Regions from separate parts of the Homo sapiens genome. Here all the other regions are linked to region 7. Evidence: promoter capture Hi-C in 16 types of primary human blood cells and fetal thymus (Javierre and others, 2016). All regions are on one chromosome and are shown on one strand. Each heading gives the region's core, a stretch centred on a gene start or on the middle of the fragment in contact. The rest is flanking DNA. Distances are from core to core; before and after follow the strand shown.

Region 1 (3,924 bases), core at 432-2,931, 620 kb after region 7:
GTACTTTGCCCAAAGTCACACGGCTAGTAAATATGAGAACTAGGATTCACTCATTATTAAGACGCTTCATTTCGGCCAGGCGCGGTGGCACATGCCTGTAATCCCAGCACTTTGGGAGGCTGAGACAGGCGGATCACAAGGTCAAGAGATCGAGACCATCCTGGCCAATATGGTGAAACCCCGTGTCTACTAAAAATACAAAAATTGGGTGGGCGTGGTGGCGCATGCCTGTAGTCCCAGTACTCGGGAGGCTGAGGCAGGAGAATTGCTTGAACCCGGGAGGCGGAGGTTGCAGTGAGCCGAGATTACGCCACTGCACTCCAGCCTGGTGACAGAGCAAGACTCCATCTCAAAAACAAACAAACAAAAAGCTTCATCTCAATGACTTCCCAATCCCTCCCAACTCGGAGGTTCTGTGTGTCTATGGAATGCCTTGGTGAAAGGAAAGAACACAAGCTTTGAAGTCAGACATACCTGGTCTGAAATGGGACATACCTGGTCTGACTTCAAAGCCTGTGTTCTTTCTCTTTCACCAGGGCATTCTATAGACCCACAGAACCTCCGAGTTGGGAGGGATTGGGAGGTCATTGAGGTGAATCTTCTAAATAATGAGTGATTCAGTTTTCCAGCACTCTCCATAAGCCGAAAGCTGGAATATGTGGCTGTGTTCTTGCTTAGTCAAGTGGCAAACAAGGGCAGAAAGAAAGAGGAAGAGAGGGAAGGAAGAAGGAAAGGAATGAAGAAGGGTGGGAGGGAGAGAACAAAAGTTCAGCTTCAATGAACGTATCGTATTTTGAATTTTTTTGATGGAACAATCTAGAAAGAGCTATTTTAGTTTCACCATGCCTGAACATCTTGCAATTTATGTTTAGCTTTTTTTTTTTTTCTTTGTCCTGGTCTCTTTACCTTAACTTAGCATGTGCTCTTTTCTTCCCAGGCAAGACTTTGCCTCCTTATGATAAAGGTTCTAATTTGCTTCCTAGTAATAACGCTCCTCCACCACATCTCCCATTGTGGCCCAATGTCAGGATCAGCCCAGGGGAGCACCCACTTGGCCTGCCCAGGCTTCTGAGCAAGACTAAACCAGAAAGCAGGTAGAAAATAGGCTGCGCGCACCTCCCCAGCTGATTTGGGGAAGAGTAGGACCTTTCTGGAATCTGATACCTTAGGGAAACAAATCCAATAGCATGAAGTTGAAATCGGTTGCAATTAGGTGAACTGGTTACATCATGCGCAATGTGAGGGAAACAGCCCTGCAGACCTTGAGTAGCAGTAACACGGTCTAAATCAAGTTTGTTCAACCCGCGGCCCAACACAAATTCAGAAACTTTCTTAAAACACGATGAGATTTTTTTGCAATTTTTTTTTAGCTCATCAGCTGTCGTTAGTGTTAGTGTATTTTATATGTGACCCAAGACAGTTCTTCTTCCAGAGTGGCCCAGAAAAGCCAAAAGATTGGACACCCCTAATCTAAATCTTTTGCAGATTTTGCAGATTTGAGGGCTTTCGTTGTGTTTATCTTGGGGCCTCTCTGGAGTTCCAGGTCAGTGGGGAGGAAGCCTGCAGGCAACAACTTCCAAGGAACCCTTGGGGTGGGGCGGGGGGGGGGTGGGACAGGACCAGCACTGCAGAGGGGCACCTCCTAGTGCCTGGAAATATGTGAAGCAGCACAAGGCTCTAGGAGCACAAGAAGACATGCTTCCTGCCCTCTGGTGACTTAGGATCTAGGCCAAGGACCAATTAGAAGACAATTAAGGACTTAACTGTGAGAGAAATCAACTCTAAGGGTAATAGGAATTTGCAAATAGAGAAGACTTCTATGGCTGTGGATTGGAAAGATTTGAGTAAGGACTTGAAGCCCAGGAAGGATTTGGGTGGAGTGGAAAGAAGGGCAGCAGGGCAGGGCTGAGGGAGTAGAGGAGGCAGAAAGATGGAAAGTCCCCATTATGGAGCGATGAATTAAAATAGAAAATAGCCTGTAATCCCAGCTACTCGGGAGGCCGAGGTGGGAGAATCGCTTGAACCTGGGAGGCAGAGGTTGCAGTGAGCTGAGATGGCACCATTGCACTCCAGCCTGGGCGAAACAGCAAAACTCTATCAAAAAATAATAATAACAAATCAAATAGGAAATAACGACACTACACTTGTCACAGTTCTCCAAAGTAATTTTTATATATTGTCTCCTGTAATTTTCGCAATGCGTTTGGGAATATACAAACCTCTTCTCTGGGCATAGCTGGTTGGGGTGAGGGTGGGACATCTGACTTCAAGTGGACCATTACATCTCTCCCACTCCCATTGGACTTTTGGATTTGCAAGGTGAGGGAGGTTCAAATTATTATTTTAAAAGAATTGTTTTATTTCCATAGGTTTTTGGGGAACAGGCGGTTTTTTGTTGTTGTTGTTGTTGTTTGTTCATTTATTTGTTTTCTGAGACGGAGTCTCACTCTGTTGCCAAGCTGGAGTGCAGTTGCGCGATCTCAGCTCACTGCAACCTCCTCCTCCCAGGTTCAAGCAATTCCCCCGCCTCAGCCTCCTGAGTAGCTGGGACTACAGGTGTGCACCACCACACCCGGCTAGTTTTTTGTATTTTAGTAGAGACGGGGTTTCACCATGTTGGCCAGGATGGTCTTAATCTCCTGACCTCGTGATCCGCCCGCCTCAGCCTACCAGAATGCTGGGATTACAGGCGTGAGCCACTGTGCCCGGCCATGAGTAAGTTCTTTAGTGGTGATTTGTGAGATTTTGGTGCACCCATCACCCAAGCAGTATATATTGAAGAGGGAGGTTCAAATTAGTTTCTTCCAGGCGGCTAAAGCTGTAGGAGGCAAAGTTTGGAAGAATGGAAAAGTAGAGGCACCTGGTTTAATGGAAGGGAGAGAGAGGGGAATGGAAGAAGAAGCTTGTGTTCAGATATTCAGAGGGGGGCAGGAAAGAAAAATGAAGAGCTGCCAATGTTAGAATCTAGGGCCAAGTTGGATTGAGACATCCCACAATTCTTACACCAAAGACCCATTTTTACTGAGTCATGTTGAATTTCTCCTTTCAATAAAAACATTCCTAACTAATATACACACCTTGTCTCATTTCATTTTGCAATAGCCCTTCTAACAAGATTAGTTTCATCATTTCCCTTTTATGGGCCACTTAGGTTTCAAGAAAGAAATGAGACTTAGTGAGAAATGTGCCCAAATCATCATCAACTGGTATGTGATTGAAACTTCATTCAAATCCACATCTGATTTCAAAGCCCAGGGTCTTCAACTCCTCCCCCATAGCACTGTCTTCATTTCCTAGGAGTGCCAGGAACAAAGCACTACAAACTGGGTGGCTTGAAACAACACAAGTTTATTGTCTCACAGTTCTGGAGACTAGAAATCTGAGATCGAGGTGTCAGCAGGACCCACTCCCTCTGAAACCTGCAGGGGAGAGTCCTTTCTTGCCTCTTTTAGCTTCTGGTGATGCTGATAACCCTAGGTGCTCCTTGACTTGTAGCTGCAGCACTTCAATCTCTGTCTTCCCATGGCCTGCCCCCTCCTGTGTCTGTGTCTCGGCATCTCTCCTCCTTTAGTAAGTGCACCAGTCATATTGAATTAAGGGCCCTCTCTACTCCAGCATACCTCATCTTAACTTGGCTACATCTGCAAAGACCCTATGTCCAAATAAGGTCATGTTGACAGGTACTGAGGTTAGGACTTCAGCATTTCTTCTTGGGAAACACAATGCAACCCATCATGTGGTTCCAGAGAATGAAATCTAACTGAAAAAAGAACTGAGGCCAAAAGATGCAGCGAATTACCCAGGTGGCTGAGCCAGTAAGTGGTTAGCCAGAGCTCACACTAGCTCTCTCTCTCTCTCTGCTCTGTTCTCTCTCATGTTATGGCTGGGATAGTGTGGTGAAAGGAAGACATCTTGGACCCCCAA
Region 2 (4,198 bases), core at 1,414-3,913, 630 kb before region 7:
GTTGTAGTATCGACAGGTTACAAAATATTGCAGATACTTATGTTGCCACCCAATCAAAGAAACAAAATTCTTTGGGGAGTTCCGACACACTGAAAAAAGGCAAAGAGGACGCATTCATCAGTAGCTGTGAGTCTGCAAAAACTGTTTGTGAAATGGAAGCTGTCCTCTCAGCCCAGGTCTCTGTCAGTGATGTCCCAAAGGGAGTGCTGGGATTTCCAGTGGTCAAAGCAGATCATAAACAGTTGGGAGCAGAACCCAGGTCAGAAGATGACAGTCCTGGGGATGAGTCCTGCCCACGCCGACCTGATTACCTAAAGGGATTGGCCTCCTTCCAGCGAAGCCACAGCACTATTGCAAGCCTTGGGCTAGCTTTTCCTTCACAGAACGGATCTGCAGCTGTTGGCCGTTGGCCAAGTCTTGTTGATAGAAACACTGATGATTGGGAAAACTTTGCCTATTCTCTTGGTTATGAGCCAAATTACAACCGAACTGCAAGTGCTCACAGGTACTTATGTGTTTTTGTACACTCCTCCCACCTTTATTTTACTATTCTTTAAAGACTCTCTACCCCTCTGGAAACGTCTTCATTATGCCACTTATAATACAACAAACAGAAAAGTTTATTTCTTTATATACATAATAATAACAAACAGAAAGATATATTTTTCCTTATTTTAAGACTAGATAATATTGAATTCCATATTTAACCAAAATCTAAACCATAAGTAGCACTTAAAAAATATATATTGTGGTTTAATTCCTTATAGTTATTAAGGAAAATTCTTCAGGACAGAGAAACGATAGGATTTATCTAGAGCTTTGACTCATGAGAATGATTCTGTCCACTTGGTGCTCATGTGAAGGTGGGAGTGATTTCTAGACTGGGCCTGTCCTGAGTAACATCTTACTTGATCAGAGACAAGTGACGGCTCCAGAAGGGAAGAGGAACAGGTGTCATAGGGTGGCTGCTCCATTCCACTCAGGTAATTATAATGCAGGTCTTAGTGCTGAACATTGGCAGTTCTTCTCTGGATGAAGTCAGAAGAAAGCTAAAATGGCCTCAGAAAGCAATACCAGTGTTTCCCAGGACAGGCTGTCACCAGACTGCACAGAGTCCTCCATGTTATGACAGACATTGCCTAGGCGTTGTATTTCTTCAGCCATTTTCCTTCTGCTACCCCAGTTTGTTCTCTCTCCAGAAACTTAAGGTTCCTCTGTCACCTGGACACAGATGACCTTGCTTTGGTGATGAGATATCCCCCTTATATTTTCCTCTACTTCTGCTATCGCAGACCCATAACTTTATATGGAGCTGAAATGCAGCAGTGCTAGAGAGCATTCCTTTTATGAAAAAAATCTCCTTTCACCAGGAGCTTCCAGAAGTTTCACCTGGGCTAAACCCAGCAGCATTTGTTAGGATATTTAGATGGAGGTTTTATTTTCACACTTGGTTCTTGAGAGGATATTCTGTAATGCTAGATTCTTCCCCTGTACCAATATTTGCCTCTCTTCTCTGTGAGTGAACTGGGTTTTTCTGACATGCCTAGACTCCTAATAAAGCTGTTTCTTCCTTGGTGAAAAAAAAAAAAAAAACATTTCCAATAGCATCTCAAGTAGCAATGTCCAGTGAAACTTTCTGCAATGATGGACATGTTTTATTCATGCTGTCTAATACAGTCAGCACTAGCCACATATGCCTACTGAGCACTTGAAATGTGGCTGATGCAACTGAGGAACTGAATTTTTAGTTTAAATAAATAGCATAAGTGACAGTGACTACTGTATTAGACATCAGAGATGTACAATTGAATAGTGTTAGTAGACTATATGCCCAAAAAAATCAATGATAAAAAGTGATGGTAAATTTGTTAATCACAGTTAAATTAGGAAACATTTCTTAAGCATTATGAACATTTGTTTCACCTGTTAAAAAATGCTACTACTTGTCACAGTTCCTAAGGTAATCATCAAGTACTTTTCTTGTCATGTTAGTAAGACTTTTTTGGTCTCTGTTTTAGTGTAACTGAAGACTGTTTGGTACCTATATGCTGTGGATTATATGAACTCCTAAGTGGGGTTCTTCTTATCCTGCCTGATGTTTTGCTTGAAGATGTGATGGACAAGCTTATTCAAGCAGATACACTTTTGGTCCTCGTTAACCACCCATCACCAGCTATACAACAAGGTGTTATTAAAGTAAGGGCAAATACTAGATATGTTATTTTAATTCAGAAAAATAAATATATATGTAATTTAAAATTTTGAGTATATACATTAAAGTAGACCTAAATCTCTCTTTTATATTTTAGAATAATGAACTAATATAGTTTGTTACTTAATACTCATATATTTTTAAACTTTTTTTATTTTGATAGCTTTAGGGATACAGGGGTTTTTGGTTACATGGTCATATTTTTGCATCATCCAGCTTTAAGTCCCCCTCCATATGTTGGTTCATATCAATATGTCTTTTAAATCTACCAATAAATCCCCATATCTGAACACTTAGTAAATCTCTTTTGTAAAAATTACAAGGAATACGTGGTTCATTGGAAATCTCTTCTTCAGTGTACTATCAAATTTTAGACATTTACTTCAGCTCTCAGCTTAGATGACACCTTTTCAAAAAGACCTTCCCTGATGATCTTATCAAAATAACTTCCCTCTAATCTTACTTATTATTTATTCTATCATAGCATCCTATTTATGTCTTGTAATTATCTTATTAATCTGTGTACTTGTTTTTTAAATTTCTCACAAATATAAGCTCCATGAGGGTGGGCATCTTGTGTAATAGGTACTAAGTATATTATTGAATGAGTAAATGCTTGATATGAATAGTTTCCATTAGAAAACAACCCAATATTAAAATAATCTTGTAAAGATTCTCATTTTTCTTTAGTTTGCTTGGATGTAGGTATTGTTTAATCACTTGCAATACAACCTAGTATTGAGCTCGCATTTCATGTGTAAGTCCCTGAGCTAGTTGCAATATAGTATATAAAGGGAAATAATATAAGCCCCTACATTCAAGAATTTCACAGTCTAGAAGGGAGAGTCTCATACTTAACTAAGTAAAACGTAAGAAATTCTGTGATGAGTACTGCAGTGGCAGTATTAATAGAGAATTGAGCATAGGGGAAACGGAAGGATTCATGGAAAAAGTATATTTTGTGTTATGCTGTAAACTTAGAAAGCTTTTTTAGTAGGGGAATAAATAGATGTGTGTCTGGGGGAAAGGAGTCTATCACTACTGTGAGAGTCATTGAAGGGGAGAAAGAGGTGGAAGGATTAATTTGGTATTACACGTGTTGCATTTAAGATGCTAGAGAAGGGTGGAAATTCAGGCCTGTGCTCAGGATAAATAATCTGTCAAGAAGCCTAGAAGTAGAGGTCTAGGATAGATATAGATACAGATATAGATATAGATATAGATATAGATATAGATATAGATATAGATATAGATATAGATATAGATTTGCAGAGAGAGCATAGTTTACGGATTTTTTCCCTCTCAGCATTAGGTACAAATATTCTATTTATACTCAACTAAGGCTGCCAGTCTACCAGGTGTCCATGCTCAGCTAAAAATGCCAGTTTCCCCATGAGAGAAACATTAAGATCTCCAAGATGGAGTCATCATTAGCATTCCACAGTAGCCAAAGACAAATTCATTTCTGCTTTGCTGTGGTGGTGGCATTTTTTTAAGCTTTCTGTGTTCTTCTGTACATATGAACTTAATTTACAAATACAGTTGTGTTACACTGATTTGTATATATTATATTTAATTTTAATGCATTATCTAAATTGACTTAAATTTTTTGTTTAGCTATTAGATGCATATTTTGCTAGAGCATCTAAGGAACAAAAAGATAAATTTCTGAAGAATCGTGGATTTTCCTTGCTAGCCAACCAGTTGTATCTTCATCGAGGAACTCAAGAATTGTTAGAATGCTTCATCGAAATGTTCTTTGGTCGACATATTGGCCTTGATGAAGAGTAAGTGTGTTCTTCCCTCCACTATAATTGGGAATCTTTTGTCTTTTTTCTTTTCTTTTCTTTTCTTTTCTTTTCTTTTCTTTTCTTTTGAGACGGAGTCTCGCCCTGTTGCCCAGGCTGGAGTGCAATGGTGCAATCTCGGCTCACTGCAACTTCCGCCTCCCAGGTTCAAGCGATTCTCCTGCCTCAACCTCCTGAG
Region 3 (4,101 bases), core at 152-2,651, 650 kb after region 7:
AATTAGCTGGGCGTGGTGGTGGGTGCCTGTAATCCCAGCTGCACTGGGGGCTGAGGCAGGAGAATCACTTGAACCCTGGAGGCAGAGGTTGCAGTGAGCTGAGATTGCGCCATTGCACTCTAGCCTGGGTGACAGGGCGAGACTCCATCTACAAAAAAAAAAAAGCTTTACTGAAGTGTGCTATGTCTGAGATGAGGTACTGGCATGAGTATAATAGCAGACAAAACCTCATACCCCATGCCTAGCCCTCAAATTGCTTAGAGAGGAGGAGTAGGGGGCAGAGAAATAACCTGCAATTGCAACACAGTGTGACCATTGCTGTGTTGGTGACATGCCAGGATGTTTGGGGAATTTGAAAGAGGGTCACCTAATTTAACTGGGGTGTTAGCAGCAGGAGAAAGGTATTAAGAAATGACTTTCTGGAGAGATAACATTTGAACTTTGTCTTGAAAGAAAAAAAAAGTCAGGTGGAGAAGGGGTAAGTGCTTTCCAAAAGAGAGAAGGGCTTTTTTTGAAAAAACACAAAGAAAAGTGAGAGCACACATGTTTTAGGGACTTCAAAATTAAGGTGTAAATGGGGCTTGTCAGGAGTGTGAAGATGGAGAATTAGGCAGGCATTCCATCTTGAGGCATCTTGGATGATATGCTAAGAAACTCAACCATGATTCTGAGGGCTCTGGGTAGCCAATGATGTAATTTTAGGAAGATCATCCTAGTACCAATACGGAGTATGTATTACACGACCAGGGGCACTAGGAATGGCTTCTTAGAGAGATGCCTTGAAATTTGGGTCTTCATAAAGGAGTAGGAGATGGCTATTCACTCGATAAGCGTTACTTAAATGTGATATAGCTGGGAGTGGGGTAGGTGGTGATTGCTATTATCTTGGCAAGAAATGAGGAGGGTCTAAAACTAAGTAAGGTATTAGTGGGGCACAGAGAGGAGGGATCACCGAGAGATTTAGAAAGTTGCATGGAAACTTTGAGGAGTGATTGCATGTGAGAATCAAGTAGGAAGTGTATTGGTTCCCAGGTTTTTGACTTGGGCAACTTGGGAATGATGGCCATTTCCCTAAACAGGGAATTCCTGGGAAGAAGAACATCGGTGGGGAGTAATGATGCTGGGTGAAGGGATGAAGGGAATGAAGTTAGATTTGTAAAAGTGGAGACTGAGAATGATGTCCTGAATAATATTCAAATGAAGACGTGTGGTAGGCAGTTGGAGAAATAGGTTTCGAGCTATCTCCTAAGGATAAGTCTCAGGAGAGAGACCTAGGCTGGAGATACAGACTTTTTCATCATTAGCATGTAAATGGTAATCAGATCTATAGTGTTAATGAAGTTATTCAGAGAAAATTTACAGAGTGAGGAGAAGAGAGACCTGAAGATAAAACCCTGGAAATATCACTATGGACAGGTCAGGAGGAAAAATAAGATGCTGAAAGAAAGGGAGAAGAAACAGCTGAGGAAGCAGAGAAAAGAAAGAACAGGACAAAGTCATCGATGAAAACCAGAGTGAGATAGTGTTTCAAGAAATAGGAAATACTCCACAGAGTCCATTCAGGTAAGAACGAAAAAGGGCAGCTCTGGCAATTAGGAATCGCTGCCCACATTGGTGAATCAGAAAAGTGGTGTTGCGGGAAATATTCCGGGAGAGAAGACAGTGCAAACATGTTGTGGGTAAGAAGGAGAGTTCCACATGCCTGACCTGGGGCAGAGAAGGGGGAGTCAGGCTGTGAGGCCAGCTGGCTTTTCCCCAATCCCAATAAGCCTTCAATGCTGTGCTCTGCAGTTAGGCTTTACTCTGAAGGCAACAGAGAATAAAACACATAGGCCAACTTGTTTTTTTGTTTTGTTTTGTTTTGTTTTGTTTTTTGGTATAAGTCATTTTTCAAGATTGAGGTAAACTTTCTTTTTTTTTTTTTTGAGACCAAGTCTCACTCTGTCTCCAGGCTGGAGTGCAGTGGTGTGATCTTGGCTCACTGCAACCTCTGCCTCCTGGGTTCAAGCAATTCTCCTGCCTCAGCCTCCCGAGTAGCTGGGATTACAGGCGTGCACCACCATGCCCAGCTAATTTTTTTGTATTTCAGTAGAGATGGGGTTTCACCATGTTGGCCAGGATGGTCTCAATCTCCTGACCTCATGATCCACCGGCCTCGGCCTCCCAAAGTGCTGGGATTACAGGTGTGAGCCACTGCGCCCGGCTGATTGAGGTAAACTTTCTGCAGAGCGAAATGCATAGATCTTAAGGGTTCAGTTCAAGGAGTCTTGACAAATGTGTAACAACACCCTGATCAACATAAAATATTTTCATCACCCCAGAAAGTTCCCTTGTGCCCAATTCTAGTCAAATCTCTACTCCCTATATGCAACTACTGTTCTCATTTCTATCCTTCAGATTACTTTTGTCTCTTCTTGGATTTCATATAAATGAAATCACGAGGATGTAAACGTTGTGACTGGCTTCCTTTGTTTAACATATTGTTTCTGAGACTTATCCATGTAAAGCGGATTAGCAATTCATTGTCTTATTGCTGGGAGCATTATTATATAGATAGATCACAATTTTTTATTCATTCTTCAATTTGATGCACATGTAGGTTGTTACCTAACACCTACTAGGTTGTTATAAGCTTTTGGCTATAACGAATAATGTTGTCAAAAACATTCTTCTGCAAGCTTTTTTTTTTGAAACATGTTTTCATTTATTTTAGGTAATTACCTGGGGGTGAAATCGCTGAATCATAAAGCAGCTATATTATAACTTTACGAGAAACAGTTTCTAAAGTGACTGTACCGTTTTCATGCCCACCAGTAATGTATGAGAATTCCAGTTGCTCCACACCCTTGGTCTTTGCCGTTTAGTGTTTTCGAGCTTTTACATGTTAGCCATTCTCATCAGTATGAAGTGGTACCTCATTGTGGGTTTAATTTGCATTTCTCTGATGACTAATGATGTTGAACACTTTTCCAAGTGCTTATCATTTGTGTATCTTCGTTTGTTAAGTGCTCAAGACATTTACCCATTTATATTTGTTAGATATATGTTGACAGAAACAATAGTTTTCTGCACATTTTATGTTGAAGGTAATTGATATTTACTGACATGTTAAAAGGGCTTAAAATAGAAACATTTATGCATTTTGTCAATGAAAAACGGAATGACTGAAATATGAAAAAAGTCTTGCCTGTGTAATGTCAGATAACCTTAAAGTCAGATAACTTTATATAAAAATAACTGTAAATTTAAATAACTAATTTTTGTCTTATCCATTATGTTATTATATGTCAAGCTCTTTGAAGTTGGGACCCTGTTTTCTCTATTGACTAAGAGGCAGATCTTTGTGTTTAGTAGCGAAGAAAACCCTATGTCACTGATCTAGTTTGTCTCAAATTGAGCCAGGAACCAAATCCACACCATGCATGCCGAGGTGAGGTTTTCTGTTTCTCTATTTAGCAATGGATGCTGTCAGAAATACAGAAAAGACAGACACAGGGACTATTTTTGAGTTTGCACATGGGAGCACATGCATTGTGCAGGAGGCTCTGCATCCTGGAGTCATCTTGGGCACTTGGCTGTGAGGGCTGGCGTGGGCATCTTGGTTTTAGCTGAATCCTAGCACATTGCTATAGGTACCTCTAAGGCAGGAGAATAGGGCCTGGAGGCAGGGAATCCAAAAACTCCCTAGAACCAAATCAGATAGAAACACTTCAGCTATGACAGGAAATATCCTCTTCATTTACATAGGGAGTACACCAAGTAAATAACTTTGTAACTTCATTTTATCCTCTTCAGTTACATAGTGTGTACACCAAGTAACCAATTGAAACCTCTATAGGTATTTAAACCCCAGAAAATTCTGTAACCAGCCCCCCTTGAGCGGCTTGCTTGGGTCTGCCCCCACCCTGTGGAGTGTACTTTTGCAATAAATCTCTGCTTTTGTGGCTTCATTCTGTCTTTGCTTTGTTTGTGCGCTTTGTCCAATTCTTGGACCTGGACACCCTCCACCGGTAACACTTCTCACTCCTGGCCTTACGTCTAAATCATTCTTGTGTTTTCATGACTTATTTTTAATGCAGATGTCCAGAACCAATTTCAGAC
Region 4 (4,149 bases), core at 1,094-3,593, 580 kb before region 7:
ATTATGAATGTATTCATATATTATGTTTTCTTCATTATGTATTTATGAATATATTTTGTTTAAAACCTAGGACTACCTCAGTCTCCATTCACTTTCATCTCATTAGTTTCAAGTGATATCTGTTGGCTTTTGAATTTATTTCTTGGCTTTGGTTTAATGCAGGGATTCTCCACCTTGGCACTGTAGTCATTTCGAGCTGCATAATTCGTTTGTCATGGGAGCTGCCCTGTGCATTGTAGGACGTTTAGCTGTATCCCTGTTCTCTCCCTACTAGTGCCAGTGGTACCACCACCACCCACACCCCATCCCCCCAGTTGTGAGAATCAAAAATGTTGCTAGACATTGCCAAATAACCCCTGGAGGGCAAAAGTGCTACTGGTTGAGAACCACAGGTTTAATATATGCATATTCTAGATAATGGGAATTTGTAGTAGTACTGTTTAATAAAATGTAGGAAAATACAGAGAATCTTAAAATCTGAACAGAACCTACCCAATGTGCTACTCTTGTTCCGTATTTCCTTAGTCTTAGCTCCAGATACTTTGACCTCACCATAGCCTTACAAAATTACCTTAATTTTTCTTTTAGTTTTTTTGTTTGTTTTTGAGAATTACCTTAATTTTTCTGAATTCCATTTTGATTGATAACTTTTTCTACTAAGTTAGTAGGTATTTCTTTAAGTGGCCCTCCTTACTTTCTGAGAAAAAGTAAATGTTTCTAAACCTTATTTCTTCCCAGATTTTTTTTAGTGGCCAGCCAATGCCAATTGACTCAACAGAATAGATGAGAAAGTAATACAAGTGACAGAAGATGTTGCTCAGCAGAGCAACTAAGGCTGGGAGAAGAAACCTGATGCTGCGATGTGTTTGTGGCAGTCTCCAAATGAAAAGATGTGTTCAAATTTCAACAAGTTCAGAGGAGTTTTAGATGATGCAATATGGTTCCTAAGAAACATGTAAACTGCTACTGTTTTCAGAGGCTAGCTTTTGGATATCATTTAATATTCTAGGCCTTTCCCTATGGCTAGAAAGTCTGATCATTGTTGGCAGAAAAGAGAGTCCAAACTTAATTCTTTATTATTAATAGTCTACCCTGGAAAAAAAATGAACGAAAGAGTGACTATGCTTATTTTTATTTTCATTCACAGGAAATTTTACTCAATTCTTTAGCTCAGAGTTAGAACACCAAAAAACAATGCACCGTAACCTACGCACCCCCCCGAAAAAAAAGAAAGAAAGAAAAGAAAGGAGAAAAAGTAGTCTTAACAATTCAAAGTGAAGGAATCATGCTTCCTGATGGGGAAAAAACTGTTTGCCTACTTGAACTTAAATCTTCCTTCTTCATTATTCATTCATTCAATAAATAAACCATGATTGAATACCCATTATGTGCAAGGTGTGGGTGATATCCCAGGGCCCTGTTTTTGTGGAACTTTCATTCTACTTTGATAGATAGACGAAAATTAAACAAATAGATGATATAAACTAATCTAATAATATATATTACAAAAGCATAATACAGATGAAAAATGTAATATGATCTCAAGTTTATAGAAATATTTATTTTCAAGAACATGAATAACTTCTTTTAAACTATGGGCAAACAAAATTAGCATTATTTTAATCTTTTTGAAGTGGCAAAAGTAAATTAATTATGATAGGCCTCAAATAGAATTAGGTCTTTGTGTCTTAATCGTATTATTTGTATTTTTTTATAGATCAAAGTTTTGACATTCCAGACAGAACTTTTCATTCTACAAATACAACTTGGCGACTCTCATCTTTTGAATCTATGACTGATGTGAAAGAACTTATCCCAGAGTTTTTCTATCTTCCAGAGTTCCTAGTTAACCGTGAAGGTATAGCAATAAATTATTTTTAATTTATATTTCTGAGGGCTTGTGGTTATTTTGTAATTTTCCAAAAATGAAAATAGCTTTTTTAAGTCCTAAAAATTTTTGAGTCCCCAAATAAGAGAAAATGTTTTTTATTAAGTATATAATTCTATTTTCAAATAAGCTTGAGGATTTTAAGTATTTTATAGGACTAAATATGTTTGGAAAACTGTAACTTTTAACTATTAAAGTTATTTGTAAATATGTATTTTAATTTTATTATAGAAATTGCTTTATTCTTTTTTCTGAATACAAAAGTTATAATGTGCTAATTACTTTAAAAATAAGAGGTATGACTTTATTGAAAGCAAAATGTAAATTAACTGAAATCTCAATTATTTTATGAGGAATGACCAAAATAAAAATAAAATACTCTGCCCAGAATTATCTAATAACCAAAAGGAATACTGGAGTATAAAATCAAATTTTCTGTGATGCCAACTAACAGTCTTGGCTGCCAACCTTAGCTATTCTTAAATAGAAGAGCAGCTAACCCTTTAAGGGGTATCTTTGGGTCATTTTCTTATATTACTTAATTCTATAATTTTATGTGATCCTTAAGAGCATATGAAACAGCTTTAAGAAGTTGGTGTTGGGCAAATTACATTGGAATTTTGTTGTATAGTATCTGTGTCTCTGAGGTTGTTTGATTGATTATTGAATCATCAGTAGATTCATGCCACCCTGGAGCTTATTTCATAGTGTTGCTCAAGTGAGAAATGCCTCAGTCAAACATCAGCACCTGCAATTTGGGGCACCTGCCTTGAAGCTTTTCATTTAGGACTCCTGTTTAAATCTACTCCTTGTTTTCTCTGTCCATGGTCTCTTATATGTATGTTCTAGCTATCTGTGGCTGTATAACAAATAATCTCAACACTTAATGGCTTGAAACAATAATAAATTTATTATCAATCACAGATAATAAAATTATTTTTTATTGGTCAGAAATAAGAAATTGGTCAGAAGTTCAGAAACAGCTCAGCTAGATGGTTTTAGCTCAGGGTGTCTCATGCTGTTGCCTTCAGGTTTTCTGGAGCTGGAACAGGCAGGAGATGAAGCCTTAGGCAGCTGGAGCACATCACCCTCTCTTCATGCAATGTCAGTGTTTTTTCATGTGGTCTCTCTGTGTGGGCTAGTTTTGGGCTTCCCCACAGCACGGCAGCCCTGGATGTCCTACTTGGCAACTCAGGGTTCCAAAGACAAGTGTTCCAAGAGGGAGACGAACAGAGGCTGCATGGCCTTTTCCAGCCTGTTCTTAGCAGCCACGCAGCATCACTTCCACTGTATTCTTCCTATTCATTGAGGCAGTCACAAGTGTCTTCCCAGATTCAAAAGAAAGGAAGATAGACTTTGCCTTGTGATGGAGAGTAGCAAGATTCTGGAAGGGCATGCAAGACAGGAAATGCTGTTATAGCCATTTTTGGAAAACACAGTTTTTTACAGCGTATATCATATCATTTCCTATCAGTGTTCCCCTGGGACTCTCGTATGTCAGTTGTCTGCTTTGGGTCAGGAGTCAGATGTTCCCTCAGAACACCTGAAAGTTGGGAAAGATTGAGTTTGTACAAATGCCCTTATGCACCCCATCCCCAGCCCATTCCCAGATGCCTCATTCACTGTTAAATAAATAAGTTCCTGCTGCTGCCGCTCCTGAAGCCACACACATGGAGTTCTGCAGGTGCTCAGCCAGTCCATCCTAAATCAACCATGCAGCTGCTCTGTACGATGACTGCTGAGCTTTCTGAGATGCTCACATCCCCATCCCATGTGAATTTATATAAACCCTTGATTTATATTCCATATCATATCATTTCAAAATACTTCCCAAGTATTTTGGTGAAGATCCTTCTAACTGTTTTTACAAGATCAAAAAGTAGACAGACAGCAACTTAATTTTACATGGAACTTAATCAGCTTTTAAAAGGTCATTTTTAATTTTTGTTATGGTGTTCAGCAAACTAGAAAATGTAGCACAAAAAGCCATTTCTGTTTAAAGGTAACATTTCCTTTAGGATAATTTTTTTAAATAAACACTTCTGAGATTTTTGTTTATACTGATGAGACAATTAGATATTAGCTCATTTACATCACAGAAGAACCCTCTTATTTCCTGTGTTGGGATAATTTTGCTATCTACAGGAATGCTTAGTAGAAAGGAAGTCAGAACAGACCCATAGACTTATAAAATTAATAGACTATGGCAATTCATTCTAACAATGTGTATACTTTATATTAGTTGAGTTTTTAAACTATAG
Region 5 (4,193 bases), core at 1,129-3,628, 600 kb before region 7:
TCCATTAGATTTCACATATACTTTTAGTTTTAAAGTATCATGTTCTGATAAATACGTTCCATGTATGCTTAACTATGGACAATCTTATTATTTGTTTAGTCTCTTTCAGCGTCTGGATTCAAAATCAAAGGATATATCTAAAATAGCTGCAGATATCACCCAGGCAGTGTCTCTCTCCCAAGGAAATGAGAGAAAAAAGGTGATCCAGCATATTAGAGGAATGTATAAAGTAGATTTGAGTGCCAGCAGACATTGGCAGGAACTTATTCAGCAGCTGACACATGATAGGTAAGCTGCGGGAGGTCAGTTAAAATTGTCTTCCATGAAGATTTAAGATATTGATGTTAAACGGAATTTGTATTCCGGAATTCAGACTCATAAAATCATTTCATTAAACAATTTTTTGTTTAATCATTTGTGATGTTTTTTTCATCTTAAAGAATAATCATATGAGTTTTTTTTAATTCTTGAGGAAGAAAAGTAATGAGGGGGGCAGTAGCTCATCTAGATAGTAAAATTAGCTTAATTTTAAAATATGGTCTGTAAAAGAATAGAGAAATCACTGAAACAGGATGGTTGAGAAAAATATATTTTTCTAACTAATTTAAAATATGTATTACAAATAACAAAAAGCGGGAAATCAAGGTATTATTCTCTAAATTTAGTTAAGATAACTTATTCATGTGACTTTGGTGTACTAAAATACACTAAACATTAGACACTAAAGTAAATTCCATATGGATAAAAGAATTACTCGAAAAGTTTATAAAGTAGAAGATAATAGGATATTTGTCAACTCTTTGAAGGATAGATGACTTTCTAAGCTCAAATGCAATAGAAGAAACTGCAAATAAATCAATGGATTTTAACCTTAATTTTTTCCAGTGTATTTAACAACCATAACAAGAACAAAAAAGCCTGGAAATATATTTTCAGCAAATAAAGTTATTTTTATTGTTTGAAAAACTTACACAGATTCTAAAGTAAAATATTATGATCCCAGAAGTTTGAATGAGCAAAAGGCATGAACACATTCCTCACATAAGACAAATGAATTACCAAACACACGGGAAAATATTCAATATTGCTAGAGGCTAATTTGGTTTTCTAGAACCTCTAGATACCACATTTTACTTTTTATGTTAACAAAAATTTTGGCTGCTAATATTCACCGCAGGATATTAGCTGTCCTTACTCAGAACTTTGGTGGCATTGTACATTTTGACAATATGTATTAATCATCCTAAAAACATTTTACTTCTAGCTTCAGTTATCCTATTTTAGTGATTCTATCCTAAGGAAAATATTCGAAATATGGAAGGCAGGCCAGGCACAGTGGCTCACACCTGTAGTCTAGTACTTTGGGAGGCTGAGGCGGGAGGATCACTTGAGCCCAGGAGTTCAAGGCTACAGTGAGCTATGAACATGCCACTGCACTCTGGCCTGGGCAACAGAATGAGACCCTGTCAAAAAAGAAAAAGAAAAAGAAAGTAAACATAAAAGTTTTCATCTCTGCATTATTTATGCTAGTGAATGAATTAGAAACAAGTTATAAACCGTAATATGGTTAAATACATTACAATGCATCTACCTCTTTATTGGGCAGCCATTCAAAATGATGAGATAAAGATAATACTGTTTCAGTAAAATAAGGCAAGTTATAGAAAAATGATCATAATGATCATAACTACAAATTAAAAACAGATGCACGTTTTAAAAAAAAAAGACAACAACCGCTACCAGTATTTTGGTATGTTTAGGGTATGAATAAGGGTATTTTTTTCTCTTATTTATTTCTAAAAATGTACTTAATATGTTTTTCCTGTCTTATTTCATCTAAGATAAAATTTATTTTAAAATCTTTTTAAAAATGTGATTCATACCACAGAAAGAAATTGATTTTATTTGTTTCATTAGAGAGTAGGCAAAATGAGGCCAGGTGAGGGCGCTCACGCCTGTAATCCCAACACTTTGGGAGGCCCAGGTGGGTGGATCACTTGAGGCTAGGAGTTTGAGACAAGCCTGGCCGACATGATGAAACCCCATCTCTACTAAAAAAATACAAAAATTAGCCAGGTGTGGTGGGAGCCTGTAATCCCAGCTACTTGGGAGGCTGAGGCAGGAGAATCGCTTGAGCCCGGGAGGCAGAAATTACAGTGAGCCAAGATCACGCCACTGCACTCCAGCCTGGGCGACACAGCCAGACTCTGTCTCAAAAAAAAAAAAAAAAAAAATGCAAAATGGGAAATGTAAAAAATTAATTTGGAAAAAAAATTTACCTAACCATATTAAATCCAGCATGTTGTATTATGTTGCTAAAGTGTTCATAGTAGTCATTACATATCTTTTAAAAAATTTAATAGTTGAAAGAAACTGGAAGCAGAGCTTGCCTTCAGGCGAGGAACTGGGAGACTGGGATTCAGGAGCAAAAAGACACTTAGATTTTATTACTTCTACTTGTATATGCATTCCCTGATCAAATATATAAACATTTGGAGTTTTTAAATTAACAGATCAGTTGTGACTTACTTACTCAATCTCTATAATGATTTTTTTTATAGCTACAAGTCCTGGATGGTCACTTAAAACACCCTTTAATCTTTTTACTTGCAGAGCAGTATGGTATGACCCCATCTACTATCCAACCTCATGGCAGTTGGATCCAACAGAAGGGCCAAATCGAGAGAGGAGACGTTTACAGAGATGTTATTTAACTATTCCAAATAAGTATCTCCTTAGGGATAGACAGAAATCAGAAGGTAATAGTGGCTTCTTGACTCAACATATAAATATAGCAGAGAACTATGGTCATTAGATAAAGATAATATTTACTTTTCTCCTCAACAGATGTTGTCAAACCACCACTCTCTTACCTGTTTGAAGACAAAACTCATTCTTCTTTCTCTTCTACTGTCAAAGACAAAGCTGCAAGTGAATCTATAAGGTAACTTTGAATCAATAGACCTTCACTCTTTCATGAATATACAACAGCTTATTGTAGTGTTTATGTAATATTTATTTTATATAATGCCATCATTTTCAGAAAAATCCTAAACAGGAAAGGCTCAAGGGAGGACAAGGTTATATGGCCAAAATCCAAAAGGAAATGACATTTCTGACAGCAAGAGTTCATGGGATTTCAGTCATCATGTTCTGGCCCTTGTTAGTTTACATATACACACACACACACACACACACACACACACACACACACACACACACATATAAATATGTATATATATACACATATATGGGTACATATATATATACCCATATATATGTATACACACACATATTTTGTAATTGACTGTTTAACATCTCTATCTATTAATATAGATAGAGCTGCTGGTGGTATCATCAAGCAGCAATATAACGTAGTGATTAAAGGTTTAGATTCCAGTTCCTGCTCTTACTAGCTCTTTAATCTTAGGCAAGTTACCTAACCTCTCTGTCTCAGTTACCTCATCTATTAAATGAAGAAATAATAATAGGTATCATAGCGTTGTTGAGTATTAAGTATGTTATTATATATTAACTATTGATAGTATTATCATTGCAGTTATTGTGGTTGTTATTATACCCATTTCATAGATGAAAAACTGAGACACAAAGAAGATAATTGGCTAAGAACACAAAGGAACTTTCTGATTCCAAATCCTCTGTTTTTCCTAGAATACTAGGCTTTTTTAAAAATGTATTTGATAAATTACCTTCATAATAATGTAAATAATACAATAATAGTATATAACAAATAAATAATACAAAATAATAATACAAAAATAAATAGAGCACACACAAAAAATGTATCTGAAGTATCAGAGGCATGAAACAATGTTTGCTTATTTATTAGAAAATATAAAATATTGATATCTCTTTTAAATAACTTAATTTCTATATTCTGTCTACAGGTTATAGGGATTATTAGCCTTTTCTAGGCGTTTCAGTCATTTCTCTTCTAATAGAATGCTAAAAAGGAGCTAATATTTTCATGTGGGTTTCGACAAGATACCTCATGCTATTGGAACTCTATCTAGTCTGCTTTGCAGAAATCTTTTACTAGGTAAAATAAAGCATATCCTCTCTGAAATTGGTCAGAACATTTAGTCATAGTAATTTTAAATATGTTTTGACAGAGTGAATCGAAGATGCATCAGTGTTGCACCATCTAGAGAGACAGCTGGTGAATTGTTACT
Region 6 (4,108 bases), core at 1,003-3,502, 600 kb after region 7:
ATATAGAGAGTGTGGGTCAAGATAGTCAATGCCCGTGCAGAATGCAATGTGGGAATGTATTACAGCTGACACTGCCAAGTGATTGTTGATTTCTGCAGCTGATGCAGGTTGACCTCTCTCAAGAATAATTTTTAAAGTATGTCACTTGCTCCTCTCTTTCTTTCTCTGTCTGACTTTCTGTCTCTGCTTCTCTGTCTCTCTCTGCCTCTCTGTCTCTCTTTCTCTGTCTGTCTCTTTCTTTCTGTCTCTGTTTCTCTGTCTCTCTTCCCCTCTCTCTGTCTCTCTGTCTCTCTGTCTCTGCCTGTTTCTCTGTGCCTCATTGTCTCTCTCTGTCTCTGTCTCTGTGTGTGTGTGTGTGTGTGTGTGTGTGTGTGTGTGTAGGTGTGTGTGTCTTCCTCTCTCCTTTTCTCTCTCTTTTCCTTCAGGAATCAATTGGTAGAAATCACTATTCATATGCCAGTTTACTGTATTGACCTAAGAATGAAGGTGAGGTCGCCAGTGCTAATTAAATTTCCTTTCCCATAGTGAACTGTATCCCAGAACTAGAGTTCACACTAAGCAGTTAAACAGGTTTGGGCATTCGAAAAAAGAAAAAAAAAAGCTGGGGCCCCAAGAAAGCACTCTTGGCCTCATTTCTATTTGGCTCACATTGCCTGTCCTGTTCTTGGCTTAAATTTGGATCACAGGACTCATTTTCTCATTTTCCTTTTCTCATGTTCCTGGATCTTTGTTGTAGAATTGTAGGAAACACAGAGTCAGGAGAGTCAGCCAAAAAGTATTTCTCCCCTCCCTGGAAGGTCTCGGGCCCTGCTCAGACACCACATGCGCAGGGCCGACTGCATTCCCACGGCGACGGCCTCCTGGCCCGCATCATGACTGTTGTTTTCCTCGCGGTGGCCATAGCTTTTGGATTTTACATTCAGATTGGTTCAAGGGGCTTTTTCCTTTCTCTGTTTGAAGGAAGCCACCCTCTCGATCCCCAGTCAGCGTGGCGTCCTCTCAGCAACCCGCTCCTGGTCTTGCTTTGACTCCTGTGCTCCCGGGCTGCCGAGAACACGTCTGGAGCTTTTAAATCAGGGTGAGTCCCAGCCGCCGAGGAAGCACTGAACAAAAAGGCCACCGCTGGGGAGCTGCAGGGGCACAGACGGAGCCTGGGAGCGGGGCTGACCATGGGGAAGAAGGGGAGGTGGGAAAGAAGGCCCGGCCACCTCCACTGCTACAGCCACAGCGACAACAGTAGACAGTGACAGGCCCTGCCTGCCACGCACTGCAGAGTCTGTGGCTCTCCCCTGTTAAGTAAGAGCAGTCGGCGCTGACGTTCAGTGAGGTCATGAGGATACTCACAGAACTTTCTGGAATAAGGGTCAGGCTGCGAAGCATTCCCCAGACATTGTAACATCCAGCCAGTCACTCGTGGCATTTAGCTTTTAGGTTCATCTCTGTGAATAATCATCACAAATATTTACTGAGCATCCTTCATCTCCTGGAAGCCTCGTGGATTATCTTGCTGAATCCTCACCACAGCAGCCCGCTGAGGGAGGTGCTATCATCGTCCCTGTTTTTCAAGGGAGAGAATCAAGGTTTGGGCAGGTGCAGTGACCTGGGGCGGTGCGGGGGGTGGGGGCGGGGTCTATTTCTGGCAGTCCTTCTTACGCTCATCCTGACTTAATAATACTGTTTCTGCATTTACTGCAAAATGGGCTCCCCCAGGGGTTACCCACAGAGACACATTTTCTCTTTTCTCTCCTCCACTCATGAGCTCAGTTGCGTGCTACGTTATCTGCCTTGTCTTCCCAGGCGTACTTTAACTTCTGCAGAGCAGACTGAAACTATGTCCGCCAGGCCAGGGCTTTCATTGCCCCCACCCAACTCTCTCCTGTCCCTGCCCCTACCTCATCCTATCAGCTAGCCGTCAAAAGAGCAACCGGAAAATCCCACACTTTGGTTAATAAAGCTAATATTAGAAAGAATCACTAAAAGTTAAGCTTTAGGGTCGAATCCATTGATAAGTGTTTAATACACTGACCATTTCATCTGATATTTTATTTTTTTAATTTTAAAATTAATTAATTGTTTATTGTTTATTTTTTAGAGACAGGGTGTCACTCCAGAGTGGAGTGTGGTGGTGCAAACATAGCTCACTGCAGCCTCCAACTCCTGGGCTCAAACAATCTTCTTGCTTCAGCCTCCCAAGTAGCTGGGACTACAGGTACATGCCACCACACCTGACTAATTTTTTTTGTTGTTTTTTTGGTTTTTTTAGGGACAAGGTCTTGCTATGTTGCCCAAGCTGATCTTGAACTCCTGGCCTCAAGCAATCCCAATAGTTCGGTCTCCCAAATTGCTGAGATTGTGGGTACAAGCCACTGCACCTGGACTTCTTCTGACATTATAAAGCAAAGAGCATTTTCAAAAGCTGATGCTACTTGTGCATATTCCATATTTGCTGAGCGCTTACTGTGTCCCCATTAAGTGCCAGGCACAGTTTTCAGCACTGCTTTAAAGTGTCTACAAGCTTAGAAAGGGCATAGGCATCTCTTGAAATCCAGTGTTCTAGGGAAAGTTTTTCCTGTGGTTTTGCACAGAACCCACCGCTTCCTGTCCAAGGTGACAGCTTTAGCTGGGAGAGAAATTAAAAATGCCTCCTTGGAATAGCTATCTGATGTGTCTAAATATGATTGCTGATGTTAGCAATAGGACCTGCCTATTAGCAATGGTTTGGGCAACTGTATGTGTGAGGCAGGGAGAGAAAGAGGAAGAAAATACAGCTCTCACTATTGTTTCCAAATGGCAAGACTGGTTTTCCTGCTACCTACTAACCAGTGTAGTTATTAGTGTTACATATCACCTCTGCATCTTATTTATGTAATATTCCAAGAAGCTAAAAAAAAAAACCTCTTTTTTTTTTTTTTTTTACAAATCTTAGATTTTATGAACACTTGCTAATAGCCCCCCCCTCCTAGATCGTCATTGCTGTGTAACAAATTGTCATACATTTAGCAGTTTAAAATACCACACATTTACTCACAGCTTCCATGGGCCACGAGTGTGGGGACGAGTGACTGGGTCGTCTGCTCAGGGTCTCTTACAAGACTCCATCAGCGTTTCAGCTGGGGCTGGGGTCTCATCTGAGGCTCAGGGTCCTCACTCCAGGTCACAGGGCAGAATTCATTTCTTTCAAGCTACGGATCTCATGGCAGCTTGCTTTTTCAAGGCCAGCAAGGGAGAGAGTGAATCTGCTGCTTTTAGTGTCTGACCTCTCGATCTTCTTTTAAATGGCTCATCTGATTAGGGCAGACCCACCCAGGATAATCTCTCTTTTGACTAACTTACAGTCAACTCATTAGAGATCCTAATTACATCTGCAAAAATCCCCTCACCTTTGCCTGATAATGTGACATCATCACGGGGGCAATATCCCATCACTTTTGCCATATACTATTGGCTAGAAGCAAATTAAGGTCCTGCTACCACTCAAGGGGAGGGGATTACACAAGGGCATGGGACATCAGGGGTCATCTTAGAATTCTGGCAACCAGAATAAGCTACTTGTGGATAGACATGTTGTCATACATATTTTTTGTTCAGTCATTATGCTTAGCAGAGAAATAGGCACACAGCAGAAAAATAACTGATTGGTACGGAGAATTTAGTGATTGGAAACGAATTAATATTGTTAAGACACAAAGTTTCTTGCAGAGCACACTCTGAAAAAGGTCACTTTTTACCCCTCAATATGTCTTAATGGGTTGAGGTAGAGAGAAGCGTGGGTAGGTATCAATCACGAGAGCACACAGGCTAAAAGAAAGAAAAAATGAGCTGGGACATCTAAGTTCAACTTCCACTTCCTCCTATACAAGCTGGGTGACCTTTTCCTATCTAGAAAGTGGGAGAAGTAGTTCCTGTCCTCCCTTACAGGGCTGCTGAGCAGGCAGAATGAGATGATGGGCTGAGAGGGCTTGGAGAGGACAAACTGTGGGTACAAAAGTCTTATTGTCCTGGCCCGGATTGCTAAGGAGATGGTGGTTAATAATATGCTGCTATCTCATGAGGTAAATGCGTGATCACATAGCCAAGAGATGCCTTTTTGTTCTAATGATCACTGTAA
Region 7 (3,916 bases), core at 828-3,327:
TCCAGATCCAGACCCCAACAAAGGGTTCTTGGATCTTGCCTAAGAAAGAATTTGGGGCCAGTCCACAGAGTAAAGTGAAAACAAGTTTATTAAGAAAATAAAGAAGATCACTCACGGTGGCTCATGCCTGTAATCCCAGCACTTCGGGAGGCCGAGGTGGGTGGATCACCAGATGTCAGGAGTTTGAGACTAGCCTGGCCAACATGGTGAAACCCCATCTCTACTAAAAATACAAAAATTTGCTGGGTGTGGTGGCACATGCCTGTAATCCGAGCTACTGGGGAGGCTGAGGCAGGAGAATCGCTTGAACCCAGGAGGTGGAGGTTATAGTGAGCCAAGATCATGCCACTGCACTCCAGCCTGGGTGACAGCAAGACTGTCTCAAAAAAAAAAAAAAAAAAAAAAAAAAGTGAAAGGTTACTTTGTAGAATGGTGCATACCCTAAAGCAAGAGAAGGAACATGTCCACCTTAGGTACAAGGCTTGTTTGTATTGAACAGCAAAAAAATGAGGAAGATGAGCTCTACTCCAAGAGCTTGTGACAAAGGATTTTTTGTGTGTTTGTTTTGAGACGAGGTCTTACCCTGTCACCCAGTTTGGACTGCAGTGGTACAATCATAACTCAACTGCAGCCTCAACCTCCTGGGATTAAGGGATACTTCCGCATCATTCCCCATGTAGTTGGGACCACAGGTGTGTGCCACCACGCCTGGCTAAGTTTTTAATTTTTTTGTGGAGACAGGGTCTCACCATGTTGCCCAGGCTGGTGTTGAACTCTTGGGCTCAAGCTATCCGCCCATCTGGGCCTCCCAAAGTGCTGGGATTACAGGTGTGAGACACTGCCTGGTCTTTGTCAAAGGACTGTTAATCCTGTGTAACTACTGTCTTCTGCAAGGATCAATATTATCTTTAAAGGGAAAATTAAACTAAGAATGCTTTTGTTCTTAAGATATCAGGACATCAGGACATTTCCTGGGTCTGTTAGGTAAACATTATTAACTTGTTCCCTTCCCTGTAAATATCCTGTGACCAAGAATGCCAAACTTCCTGGGAATGTGCCCCAATAGGTCTCAGCCTCATTTTACCCAGCCCCTATTCAAGGTAAGGTAGCTCTGGTTCCAATGTCTCTTGACACTGATGCTTGACTTCGATACCCCTCAACTTACAGTGTCTGTTTAATGCCTGCTTTCTGCCCACGATTTTCCTTGTCAATATCTTAAGTTAGATCATATATATATATATTTTGTTTTTTTGAGACGGACTCCTGATCTGTCACTCAGGCTGGAGTGCAGTGGCTCGATCTTGGCTCACTGCAACCTCTGCCTCCTGGTTCAAGCGATTCTCCCGCCTCAGCCTCCAGAGTAGCTGGGATTACAGGCCCCGGCCACCATGGCCAGCTAATTTTTGTATTTTTAGTAGAGACAGGGTTTCACTATGTTGGCCAGGCTGGTCTCAAACTCCTGGCCTTAAGTGATCCGCCTGCCTCGGCCTCCCAAAGTGTTGAGATTACAGGCGTGAGCCACCGCGCCTGGCCTGATCATGTGTATGTTTTCGTGTGGCTATAAAACAATTCACGTTTTCTATTTTTTCTTCAATTGTGTATATTTTTCAAGAAATTACTCCATTTAATTTTATTCCAGTTATCATAAAATGAGGCTATCCTGTAACATTCTTTTGAAATGGAACCACTACGCACAATGGATTGTGGCAACCTGAAAAGAAAGTACAGTTTAATTCAAACAAGTCACAGGCTGCCTGTGTTAGACAAGATGAAGCATTCGCAGTCTGGGACCCTGCATCTCTGTCTGCCACAAACAAGGCTGTCAGCTAGTCTTCTGAGTACGTGCACGCCAGTAACGCGTACGCCTCGTTACAGCATGGTCGGCGGATATGAAAAAAAGTCCGTGGTCACGTGCAAATTCCCGACTCCAGTGCGTACACCCAGCGGCGCAGGGGAAACGCCGGCTTCGCCCACTGCGCAGGCGCAGGAGCCGCGCTCTGGGCCTCTGCTCAGGCTCTGCCGCGGACGACCTCGAGGCCCTTAGTTGACTGGGACCGGAAGTGGCGTGTGCTCGGCCTTTCTGTGTTCCTGGCCCGCGGCCGTCGGGTGTGAGCTGCGCCGACCGCTCTGAGGGTTCGTGGCCCACCGCTCCTTCGCGGTCCCTGCCGCCACCGTCCACGCTCAGCGTTGTAGAGAAGATGGTGGGTCGGAACAGCGCCATCGCCGCCGGTGTATGCGGGGCCCTTTTCATTGGGTACTGCATCTACTTCGACCGCAAAAGACGAAGTGACCCCAACTTCAAGAACAGGCTTCGAGAACGTGAGTGGGTCCTCTCTCCCCTGGCCAGGCTTGCTGCCTTCGGCCGCCGCCCTTCACAGGAGGGGTCATTGCCTCCCACCAGCCTGTGGGCCGCGCAGGGCGACCGCGTGGTGCGGCCCTCAATAGGCGATGGCGCTGGCTGCGCCGCTCCGGGGGCTCTAGTGCCCCGTAGGAATTCCATTTTGGAGGAAGGATTTTTCCCGTTTTGTTTTCCCCAGACACTTTAGCCGTGCAAATGCACTCTTGATTTCTGTTGCAATCTCGGGTGTGTGTGGCCTGGGGAGGAGGTTGTCTCTTTTTTTGTCGTTCATCTTTTTAAACCTCTACTCTTAACTAAAAAGTCGTGCATTTTTGTCGCAAATTTTAGTCTGAGGCTAAATCCGCATGCTCAGTGCAGTATCATTGTTGCATTCTTTTTTTTGAGACGGAATCTCGCTCTGTCGCCCAGGCTGTAGTGCAGTGGCGCGATCTCGGCTCACTGCAACCTCCGCCTCCCGAGTTCAAGCGCTTCTCCTGCCTCAGTCTCCCCAGTAGCTGGGATTACAGTCGGGCGTCACCACGCCCGGTGATTTTTTGTGTTTAGTAGAGACGGGGTTTCACCGTGTTGGTCAGGCTAGTCTCGAACTCCTGACCTCAGATGATCCGCCTGGCTCATTGCTGCATTCTTAAACCCTCTTGGTAGCTTCGTTCTAAGTGCTTCCAAGATATGAGTGAATGCTATAGAAATTGCAGGGGAGTCCAAAGGGCTGCGCTTCTCCCGTGGCTCAGTCTTATTTCATACCTGCGACATCTTTTAAGAGAGGTCTACCAGAGGGGAATCGTGTCATGAAAACCGTTGTGATCCACCTTGAATTTTCGGAGAATCTTCATTCGCATCATTGAAGAGCAAATTTGTTGCAATAAGAAATATTTTTTGGCTTATCTTGGTTGTTCAGCCAAATTAGTTTTTGGAATTAAAATTGATACGTAAGTTACTAAAGCCCAAGGGGTACAAAGAAGGGATTATTGTTTACTTAAGTAACAGTGGTTACGGTTTAATTCAGCTATACTAAGTCATTTCAAGTGTTCAGTAGCCCTGTGTGAGCAGTGACTGCAGCGCTGATCTTACTAGCACTAAGAATCAGACATCTAGTTCCAGCTTTCTTATGTTTTAGGAGGGAAGGGATATAGACATAATTTGATTTATGACTAGGCAGACTAATAGAATACTGTTTTACATTCAGACCTTGAATTTCTAGGGCCAGGTTAGCGGCATAATTTGGGGTTTCTGAATCCTAATTTCTGTAGTTGTAAAATCAGGTAATGCCACCTACCTCTTGTTGATCTTGTGAAGGTTGAGATGTTTGAATTGCCTTCCACGTTTTCTGACATAGGAAATGCTCCTCCATAAATGCTGGTGGTCATTCTGCCTTCGGGTTATTGTCCTGTAGTTGCCAAAATGGGTGACAGCTGGGGGCTTTGGTACAAATGCAGAGTTATAAAGAATGGATTAACCCTATCTTCCGTTGGAAACCCTGAAGTCCTGTTGCAGAAACAAGAGCTATCATTTTAGACAAATGGAGGAATGTTATTTCAAAATAACTTCTCCATCATTTTC

The links. The method cuts DNA at HindIII sites, captures the fragments that hold promoters and counts their contacts. A CHiCAGO score of 5 or more calls a contact.
Region 1: a contact is called between a fragment that was not itself captured here and the fragment with the promoter of TOMM20 in region 7, in 10 of 17 cell types (neutrophils, erythroblasts, naive CD4 T cells and 7 more). The highest score is 10.4, in neutrophils.
Region 2: a contact is called between a fragment that was not itself captured here and the fragment with the promoter of TOMM20 in region 7, in 1 of 17 cell types (monocytes). The highest score is 5.8, in monocytes.
Region 3: a fragment that was not itself captured here is called in contact with the fragment with the promoter of TOMM20 in region 7 in 17 of 17 cell types (erythroblasts, naive CD8 T cells, activated CD4 T cells and 14 more); the score reaches 15.2 in erythroblasts.
Region 4: a fragment that was not itself captured here is called in contact with the fragment with the promoter of TOMM20 in region 7 in 1 of 17 cell types (monocytes); the score reaches 5.4 in monocytes.
Region 5: a contact is called between a fragment that was not itself captured here and the fragment with the promoter of TOMM20 in region 7, in 1 of 17 cell types (fetal thymus). The highest score is 5.1, in fetal thymus.
Region 6: a fragment that was not itself captured here is called in contact with the fragment with the promoter of TOMM20 in region 7 in 1 of 17 cell types (total CD8 T cells); the score reaches 5.6 in total CD8 T cells.

Annotation. Positions count from the first base shown.
Region 1 is chr1:234,505,031-234,508,954 of GRCh38, reverse strand. No RefSeq gene overlaps it. Among named protein-coding and RNA genes, the nearest start is that of LINC01354, 25 kb to the left of the region's middle. The HindIII fragment of the contact is 2,446 bases long and covers 459-2,904 here.
Region 2 is chr1:235,755,279-235,759,476 of GRCh38, reverse strand. It overlaps LYST (lysosomal trafficking regulator), which reads left to right. Exons shown (of 53, transcript NM_000081.4): 23 at 1-505; 24 at 2,019-2,196; 25 at 3,830-3,999. Among named protein-coding and RNA genes, the nearest start is that of MIR1537, 96 kb to the left of the region's middle. The HindIII fragment of the contact is 1,073 bases long and covers 2,127-3,199 here.
Region 3 is chr1:234,479,533-234,483,633 of GRCh38, reverse strand. No RefSeq gene overlaps it. Among named protein-coding and RNA genes, the nearest start is that of TARBP1, 2.4 kb to the right of the region's middle. The HindIII fragment of the contact is 2,467 bases long and covers 168-2,634 here.
Region 4 is chr1:235,709,766-235,713,914 of GRCh38, reverse strand. LYST (lysosomal trafficking regulator) reads left to right here. Exons shown (of 53, transcript NM_000081.4): 43 at 1,718-1,858. Among named protein-coding and RNA genes, the nearest start is that of GNG4, 62 kb to the right of the region's middle. The HindIII fragment of the contact is 645 bases long and covers 2,021-2,665 here.
Region 5 is chr1:235,729,598-235,733,790 of GRCh38, reverse strand. LYST (lysosomal trafficking regulator) reads left to right here. Exons shown (of 53, transcript NM_000081.4): 34 at 100-288; 35 at 2,614-2,759; 36 at 2,848-2,944; 37 at 4,134-4,193. Among named protein-coding and RNA genes, the nearest start is that of GNG4, 82 kb to the right of the region's middle. The HindIII fragment of the contact is 7,638 bases long and covers 1-4,193 here.
Region 6 is chr1:234,528,498-234,532,605 of GRCh38, reverse strand. LINC01354 (long intergenic non-protein coding RNA 1354) reads left to right here and starts at 827. Exons shown (of 3, transcript NR_038426.1): 1 at 827-1,078; 2 at 1,425-1,580; 3 at 2,264-4,108. The HindIII fragment of the contact is 530 bases long and covers 1,988-2,517 here.
Region 7 is chr1:235,126,998-235,130,913 of GRCh38, reverse strand. TOMM20 (translocase of outer mitochondrial membrane 20) reads left to right here and starts at 2,077. Exons shown (of 5, transcript NM_014765.3): 1 at 2,077-2,319. The coding sequence starts at 2,199. SNORA14B (small nucleolar RNA, H/ACA box 14B) reads left to right here and starts at 2,977; the gene lies at 2,977-3,111. It overlaps LOC105379283 (a long non-coding RNA gene), which reads left to right and starts at 2,713. Exons shown (of 2, transcript XR_949295.4): 1 at 2,713-3,285. RefSeq lists enhancers at 1,800-1,899, 2,130-2,349. The HindIII fragment of the contact is 4,902 bases long and covers 1-3,916 here.